Linked DNA regions of Homo sapiens: regions 1 and 3 are each linked to region 2. Evidence: promoter capture Hi-C in 16 types of primary human blood cells and fetal thymus (Javierre and others, 2016). All regions are on one chromosome and are shown on one strand. The core of a region is centred on a gene start or on the middle of the fragment in contact, and the rest is flanking DNA. Distances in the headings are between cores, read along the strand shown. Region 1 holds the start of CCDC15 (coiled-coil domain containing 15). Region 2 holds the start of HTATIP2 (HIV-1 Tat interactive protein 2). Region 3 holds the start of CCDC82 (coiled-coil domain containing 82).

Region 1 (2,926 bases), core at 427-2,926, about 100 Mb before region 2:
AATAATGCAATCCCATATATGATGATAGAACAGCAGTGTCTTTTGATGCTAATTTATTAATAATTATTGGGGGGAGGTAGTCTAAAGCTATGACATTTTTAGGAATCCTGATGGCCCCCTGAAATTTTGGGGAGAAAAATGAGTAGAAGTTCCCCTTTAGAACAGACATGATCTAAGGGCCAAGCTTTAGAAGTAACTATTCAGCATTTATTTTGAGCTGACAGAGCTATATCCGTTAATAAGGGTGGATACCCAGACTAGATATGCTAAAGCTATAAGGAGTTCTATTAGATGCTTGATCAAACTCCCTTTGGCTGGAACTGATCAGAAATTTTTAAATCAGGAAAAGGAGATATGTTTATCCATGTTCCAAGACTTTAATATTTTGAGTTAATGTGTGTGAATACGATAGTCAATACTTCTTAACATAGAAAAAGTTTGATGGTGTCAAATTTTAGGCATGTTGACACTACTGATATTATACAGATGTAATTTGAGCAATTACAAAGAGGTGTCAACAACTTAAATACCAAAATATCTTTATACCAAATCTTACCAAGTCTTGTGGGGTGTTTCCTGCATTCATCCCTTCTCATTCCACTCCTTTTTTTTTTCCAGAGATGGGGTCTCACTCTATTGCCCAGGCTAGAGTGCAGTAGTATGATCATAGTTCACTGCAGCCTACAATTCGTGGGCTCAAGCACTTCAATCATCCTTTTTCAAGGCTGTTCTTCTCTATTTCTTACCACTAACAAAGTTTCGATGCTATACTCCATGCTTAAATTATTATAATTATATTCTAATTTATCCCCAGGATCCAATCACTCCCTATCCTTCAAAACCTTTGAAGCAATTCATCTAAAGAAAACACTGGTTGATCATGACATTCACCTGTAAATATTAAACAAAGTCAATCCCTTCTCCAAAATTTCCTAAGGTACTCTACCATCCCTATTTTCCATAATCCTGTCAGCAACCATTCTCCTACTAAGCTTTCCACTCCAATCGATCTAATCTACCCTTAGAATCCTGAACCTTGCTTACTTCTTACTCTCCTCATTCTCCTTAATAGGAGAATCATTCCCTTCCCTTCTCCGATCAAATTCTTCATTACACTTTCCTGGGTCACATCAACCCAACGTCATAGCTTCTTGATTGAGCATTATATTCTTAGAACTTAGATAGAGATACCACCTAGACTCTTAAAATCCTTTTTGGAAATAGGCAGGGTAGGAATAAATCAATGAATATACATACATATGTGCAAACATAAATAAAATGAATATAGTATATTGCATTACTTTAACATTTAAACACATCTCATTTCTCTTCTGAGATCAAGTACACTGAGGGAACATATCTCATCCTTTTTTCATCCATGTTCAGCACCTTGTCTACACATACAGAAGACATTTTGTGCCTTTCATAAATACTTCATGAGTGTCTATATTGATTAGGCAGTATTTAAGATAAAAGTGGGAATGTGATGATAAATGACATTTGTTCTCTACGCTCAAGGAGCTCACACTGCATCAGGAAAAGATATATAAACAATCTACTATAACACAATGTGGTAAGTGCCAAGTTAAATTTGAACAAATAGCTAAGGGGCACAGTTTGGTGAAAGACTATCAGAAACCATGGAATTTCTAGTTAGACTTTCTCAGATTATCAGAGTTCATCTCTTTCTCCTTTATTCTATTACTCCATTTTGCCTGAATCCTCATTACAAAATTTATCATAAACCTTAAGCAACCAATTAATGTTACTTGAAGTATGCCAACTATCATCCATACTAAGTTGCAGTGTCTGGAAGATGTAGATAGTGCTTATGTCTTGGGCATAACAAGCAATCAAGAGTCTGAAGTAAACTGATATACAGATATATATCTATATAACCTGTTCCATGTAGATTATGCTCTATATATTATAGTAGGTGAGTAATAAATATTTGATTATGCCAACTAAAGCTGCAGTCAAGTTTTGGCAAATACTTGTTCTATAATCCTAATGCAAGAGCATAAACTATTTATGGCAGAATAGAAACAGCATCCTCGGACTGTTCATCTTTAAGCACCCAGGATTAGAGAAGGCTAATAAAAAGGGTGGTGGGGAACCCCACCATATTTGGATCAAACTGACACTCACATATGCTGGGATTTCCGAACTACCTGGTGAGGCAGGTTCCACCCATGCCCCAACTGGTACTATAGCCTCGTTCCTCTCAGCCAGCACTGCCAACACGTCCTTGCTCTTCAGGGGGTTTAAAGCCAGGGGCAACCTTGAGGTATTTCGAGGTTTCTTTCGGGCCATACTTCCCAGCATCTGTGACTCCTGATTAGGAGAAAGAAAAAGCTTAAAATCTTCAAATGACTGCATTAAAAGTTCAACCTCCTAACACATGAGCCACAGGCCCGTGAAAAGGAGAGAAGCCCTGGAGGCAGAAGCCTGGCATGAAGTGGAAACACACGGATTCTAGAGAAAAAGGAAGAAAAGAAGGGAAGAGAAATGGGAAGAAATAAAGAGGCAAAGAAAGGTTTTTAAGTTGCCTTCTAGAAGAAATGGCGATGAGAGGGAAGAGAAAGGATGGGAATGAGAGAACGAAGACTGTCCTCAGCTGTGGGCGCAGCGAGGCGGGAAGGGAGGAATGACAGCTGCAACCCGGAGAAAGAGGGAGGGGCGGGGACCTGTGTCTGCAGCCGAGAGTCCCAATAATCGGTATAGGTTATGGGAAGACGCGCTGAACGGCTGGGAGCCTCGGGCCAGATAAAAGCCTGCTTCTGAGGCCCCGAGGCCTGCTCCGGCTGAGATGGCACTGGCCAGGAATCGGCCCGCAGCTCGCCACAGACTCAGTCTACTCGGAGTACTAAGGTAACCGCCTCAAGTAGACCGCCACTTTGCGGTGGGCTGCTCCGTCCCGCCCATC
Region 2 (2,831 bases), core at 225-2,724:
GTGAAACCTTGTCTCGTCTCTACTAAAAATACAAAAGTTAGCCAGGAGTGGTGACGCACGCCTGTAGTTCCAGTTACTCGGGAGGCTGAGGCAGAAGAATCGCTTGAACCTGAAAGGCAGAGGTTGCACTGAGCCGAGATCGTGCCACTGCACTCCAGCCTGGGGGACAGAGTGAGACTCCGTCTCAGAAAAAAAAAAAAAAAAACCTTTAACTTAGAGTGAAGGGAATATCCGATTTACAGACACAAGCCTGGGAAGTCAGGCAGGGCAAATTCTTGTAAGTGAATAATCCCACCTTTCACTGCCATAGACCTATCTCACTCTGCAAAGCAGTTTCAGAATCCCTGACAATATTAGTGTGAAGTGCGCAGGTTGACAAAATCAGCAAAGTGGCTGAGAAAATTCTCAAGGTCACCAGGGCTGCCTCTAGAATACAGCTTGTATGACCCTGAAAACAGTGCTCTTCTGTCTCACCAGCCCCCACCCCCATTACAACCCAGACCCAGCTTTATAGGGTTGCAGATGGAGAGAAGGGCTTTGCCCAAGACCACACAATGAGCGGGAGGGAGGCACACCTGGGCTACAATCCAGGAGTCAGACTTCTGGGAGGGACTCTCACAGACCAATCTTGGCCAAGTTTTGATGGCCTCTCACTACCCCCACCACTGGCAGGGCAGTATTCAGCCTTTAGGCATGAAATATGTTCACCTCGCAGAATCCTGGGGGTCCATTTGAGTCCCAGCTGAAATACCCACCACATTTTTATAAGCTTCCTCGTCGAAGGTGAGCTTCCTCCGGCCAATGAGCGTGACTTTGGAAAACAGGCCCTGCTCCAGGATTTCCTTTAAGAGCACTCTGCCGGTTTCTCCGCTGGCGCCCAAAATAAAGACGGATTTATTCTGCATCCTGAAGTCTTCCCGAAGCTTCGACAGGGCTTCTGTTTCGGCCATGCTGGGGAAATAACATCGACAGATGCCGGTCTTAGGGTGTCAGGGGACTGCCAGTCCTTATCCCGAGGAACAAGGGCTGTTTATCTGTTAGGGAGGAGGATATTGTTCTCCGCAGTCCGGGCTCTGGGGAAAGTGCTGAGTCACGTGCGGGGCGCGGCTCCCCGGCCATCGCCCGCACCTGAGCCAGCAGACCCATCGGAAGGGGCCCGAGCTGGAGGGTGCGCCCAGGTGCCACAAGCTGCTGGCATCACTGGGCATACCCCACGGTATCCCCGGCCCGGCCAGGAGACCTGGCCCAGCTCGGTCCCATACGCGGAGGGGTTACCTGGGGCCAGCCCCCGGCCCCGGGTCCTCACGACGCAGCAGGAGCAGGGCGGCCGCCAGAGCAGCCGCCGCCGCCGCGCTCAGCGCCGCAGGCCCGGCCATCAGAGCATCCCACCTTCCCTGGTCGGACCGGGGGGGTTGGAGGCGACGGAGACAGCGCCTACCCGGCTTGGTCTTCCGGGTGGCCTCGCGGCGACGCTGCCTCGCCCCGCCCACAGGGGCGGGACCTGGAGACGAACTCCTGGCACCCTCACAGGCGCGGGGAAGGTGACCCCGAGAGCACGTGCGCGGAGCCGCGACCCTTCCTAAGTTTGGAATCTGCAAGACCCTCTTCCCGCGTTTTCCCTCACCTGCTGGGCTCAGCTCACCCAGGCGCCAGCTAGTAGACTTGCCAGACTTGATCTTCAATGGTCCCCCCAGCTGGAATGTCAATTGTATATTGGCCATCATCTCAAATTCACCAAGTCAAAAACTTAACCCTGCCTACCCAACCACCCCAAACAGGAATAAAACAAACCTATTCCTAGCCTCTCTTGGGTGTCACTGTCCCTACATAAACATACACACACACACGCACACACACACACACCTCCTTCTACCCTGTCAAGTCAGAAATCAGGATTCCTTTGATTCCTTTCTTTTCTAGCCTTTCCACACTACAGACTTATCAAGTCCTGTTATCCCATCTGCCTTACAAATATTTCTCCCATGTAATTCAAGCTCGCATCATATCTCCCCAGAATAAATGGTCTACCTGCCCAGGTCCTGGCCTAATTCATCACCTAGATGGTTGAACCCGGGTGACCTTCCACACCTGTGATTCAGTCTTCCTAGCCCAGATCAGTGGTTTGGGACACAGGTATCTACACTGGGCCTGTCCTGGATCTTGGAAGTCCTGAACAGAGGTTAGAATGACAAGCAGAAATCTGAATAATTTCAGATTGTTCAGGTTTTGTTGGGAACATTGGTCATTTGGGGGCCCCACCTCCCATCTAGAAGCCAATGAAACACATTGCCTCTTCCATCTCCATGGGAGTTATTATATGTAGGCTTTGCCTAGGCTCAGCAAGCCAGAGGCTCACGCATAGGTTTTCAGTTTTGGAGGAGTAATGAAAAGATGCAGTGAAGGCCTGAGATATATGTGGGTTGGTTGGGGCAAGGGTATAGGATTATGGCATCATATGATCCACCAGCCATCTGATGGTCTGATCTTGTCTTAAATTCCTGCCTGTTTTCAGAGACTGTTGTGAATACAGTACTTCCTGTTATTCTTCTGATAAATTCCTGTGCTGTATAAGCTTACCAGATATATTCTGTTGTTTGCAATAAAAAAGCTTGATTAATATAGAGCAGTGTGGTTCATTCCCCACTGGCCTGTCACAGTGCCTGGACTCTTCCCTTTGAGTTCCTAAAGGTTTTCTACAAGAATGCAATGTTAAACCTTGTCAGCAAACACTGTCCTAGTAATTCATTTATCAAATCTGTCACAGAAATTATTCATTGTACCCTGTCTATTCTTCCCCTTTGTTTAAAATTGTGGCATAATTAATATACAAT
Region 3 (2,780 bases), core at 281-2,780, about 76 Mb before region 2:
TTGTCGGAAAATGGAAAGATCCATCCATGCACCTTTTTGGCTGAAATAAGAGACTGGCAGGTTTAAGGTGTCAGTTGATTTAAAGGAGCGAGGTTTCTTTGCTTTCCCCACAACACAAAGTTTAAGTTTGTGTAAACCTGTTGCATTGGCACAACACATGATTGTGACTCTTTCTTCAATTGATTTGTGCCCAGGGACAGTGCATTTACCTTTGATTACTGAAATCCTAGAAGGCAAGCACTTCCAAAAGAGTCCAGTTTCATCTGCATTGTAGATTTGTTCAGGCTGTAAATTCTCTCGTTCAATAAAATCTCGAAAGTTATTACAAAAATCTTCCACCGCAGTCTCATCTCCATTTAATCTTTCATTTCTAATGTTAATCTCTCTAATGCTGTGCCGCTGCTTAAAACGAGTTAGCCAACCGGCAGAGGGGTTAAAATCACCATCCATTCCCAAAGCATAAAAGAAGAACTCTGCCCTTTTTGCACAAATTGGTCCAGATATGGGATTCCCTTTTGCTCTTTGCTGGTTGAACCATTCCAGCATTGCCCTGTCCAATTCCTCATACATGGATGGCTTCATAGATTTCCTCTTGGCCAAAAGACTTGTGGAATCAGAACTGCTTGCATAAGTTATAATCTTTTCCTTATTTTTTCTTATATCCCGAACTGTTGTTTCACCAATTCCATAAATCACTGCCAGTTGTTTGGAAGAACCTCCGTCTTCAAGTTTCTTTATTATATCAAGCTTATCTTTAATAGTCAACACCACACGCTTCCGTTTCCCTGACATAGCGAGGTTCTGGGACTCACCCCACACTCACAATGTAGCAATCCACAAAATCCTTCCTTCTCTTACACAGGCTCACTTCAACAGTCTTAACACACTCAGTCTTTCATCCTTACCAGCAACCTGGTGGCCCTGATCCCCTCCCGGGCTGGGGTTGGCTGGCAAATAGACTGCAGAAGAAGGTGAAAGAGGAGGAAGTTTGAGAGAACAGGCCTTTCTTTAACTTATACGGGCAGTAGCGGAGGCCCCATGTCACCGCGGATAATCCGGATTAAAAGCATGTGTTTTATTACCCCAGCAGCCGTGAGAAAGACTATACCCCCATTGTGGCCACGAACCTCCTGCACGTCCAGATCCCGGGTAACCGCGCGTCACTAACCCCTGCCACACCCCAAAGTTACGACAGAGAGCCGAAGAGCCTAGGAGTCAAGGACTGGCACCCTTCCTCAGGGGAACGGATATATTAGATTCCTTCCCCAGCAGCAGGGCCCTCCCGCCGCGCAGCCCCAGTTTCCCGCGCCAGCTTTAGCCGGGACAGTCCTCCCAGTCCCTCAAAACCCGCCAGGCCCCTCTCCCCACCTCTCTTGCAACCAGGACCCGCACAGCTCCCTGACTATCGCGCGGCAGTCGCTCCGCCCCTAGCCACGCTCCCGGAAGATGATCCCTCCCGCCGCCTGGCCCCACCCCTCGCCCCACCCAGAGGCGGGACTTCCCTTGGTCCCCGGAAGGGGGGGAGGAGCATCGCTTGTCCTGAGCTGGTTGCCGGGGCAGGGGCGGAGGCGGAGGCAGAGGTGGAGGCGCTTTGAAAGGTGAGAGCGCGAGGGCGGTGCGGGGCTGTCTCCCGGCTGGGACTCGCTCGCGCTCCCGGTGCTAATGGTTTATGAGAGGGGCGGGGGAAGCCGTGCCTCCTCGCGGACTAAGAGAAAAATTCCCGCGGGCGCTCTTTGGGTGGGCCGGAGAACGCCCCTCAGCCCTTTGCGCCTCTAACCCTCCTCAGCTGAGCTGCAGTGGGCGCGGTGCCCGTTATTTCCGCCTTGGGGAGGTGCTTGGAACTGATGTAGGGAGCTCGGTTGGTGATTTCTCGGGTTTCTGGCCTTTCCAGACCCTTGTAATTGTTTTCTCGGTGCAGAGCTCTTTTGGGGTCTGGGGGTTTCCGTCGTCCTGCGCGCGTCATCGCGAAGCTTGGCCTGAGGGTCCGGTTTCCTAGCTACTGTGCCCCTCCCTCCTGGAGGCAGAGTGACGGACTAGTGGGCTAGCGGGCGCTGGGTTCCTGCGTCCCGCCAAAGAGGTTTGTAATCATGAAAGTCACCCTTCCGGGTGTTAATTCCTGAGAGGATCTATTCCACTGTCTACCACTCATTCCTGCTGCATTAACCTTCATTGTTAACGGATTTTAATGAATAATATAGTTATCCCGGATACCATGCTGGCAGGATCCACTTTGCGAAATTGTGGACTGTTGGACTGTGATTCTAAGTGGGGGAAATAGGCTTTCCTCTCTTTATGTTTATTTTCTTATATCCTATTTCTGTCATGTTCTGTCTTGTTTTCCTGCCAATAGAAGAACTATGATAAATTTATTCATAGCAGTGTGATAAGAACTTGATCTTAATCATACACTGTAGCCCTCAAATCGTGTATTATGCTGGCTTGTTTTTGGTGTCCCTAGTAATTTCATCAGATTGTGAGCTCCTTGGGAGCAGAGACCATGTTTATTTGAAATGGTGGCAGCACAGTTCCTAGCAGGTGCTTGCATTTTGGTAGATATTCAATAATTATTTTTCGGCTTATTAATCTTTGCTCTCCAAACTGCCATATAAAAGAAAACATCGAAGAGGAGTGATGTTTTACACCCAAGAATGGATCCCTCCTGGTAGAATTTCAAATAATGACCTGGGGTTCCACTGCCTTTCAAATCTGTAAAGTGTTAACTACCACCTGCATTGTTTATACAGCAAGTAGGTGATTTCTAGAATGAATCTTTTCTTGAG

The links. The method cuts DNA at HindIII sites, captures the fragments that hold promoters and counts their contacts. A CHiCAGO score of 5 or more calls a contact.
Region 1: a fragment that was not itself captured here is called in contact with the fragment with the promoter of HTATIP2 in region 2 in 1 of 17 cell types (total B cells); the score reaches 8.7 in total B cells.
Region 3: a contact is called between the fragment with the promoter of CCDC82 here and the fragment with the promoter of HTATIP2 in region 2, in 1 of 17 cell types (total CD4 T cells). The highest score is 5.1, in total CD4 T cells.

What each region holds. Positions count from the first base shown.
Region 1 is chr11:124,954,132-124,957,057 of GRCh38, reverse strand. It overlaps CCDC15 (coiled-coil domain containing 15), which reads right to left and starts at 2,856. Exons shown (of 16, transcript NM_025004.3): 1 at 2,688-2,856; 2 at 2,149-2,334. The coding sequence starts at 2,325. RefSeq lists an enhancer at 2,653-2,926. The HindIII fragment of the contact is 1,363 bases long and covers 995-2,357 here.
Region 2 is chr11:20,362,357-20,365,187 of GRCh38, reverse strand. It overlaps HTATIP2 (HIV-1 Tat interactive protein 2), which reads right to left and starts at 1,474. Exons shown (of 5, transcript NM_001098522.2): 1 at 756-1,474. The coding sequence starts at 950. RefSeq lists silencers at 1,125-1,267, 1,054-1,473. The HindIII fragment of the contact is 1,649 bases long and covers 926-2,574 here.
Region 3 is chr11:96,388,662-96,391,441 of GRCh38, reverse strand. CCDC82 (coiled-coil domain containing 82) reads left to right here and starts at 1,530. Exons shown (of 10, transcript NM_024725.4): 1 at 1,530-1,598. JRKL (JRK like) reads right to left here and starts at 1,429. Exons shown (of 2, transcript NM_001261833.2): 1 at 1,369-1,429; 2 at 1-959. The coding sequence starts at 792. RefSeq lists a silencer at 1,357-1,616. The HindIII fragment of the contact is 1,223 bases long and covers 750-1,972 here.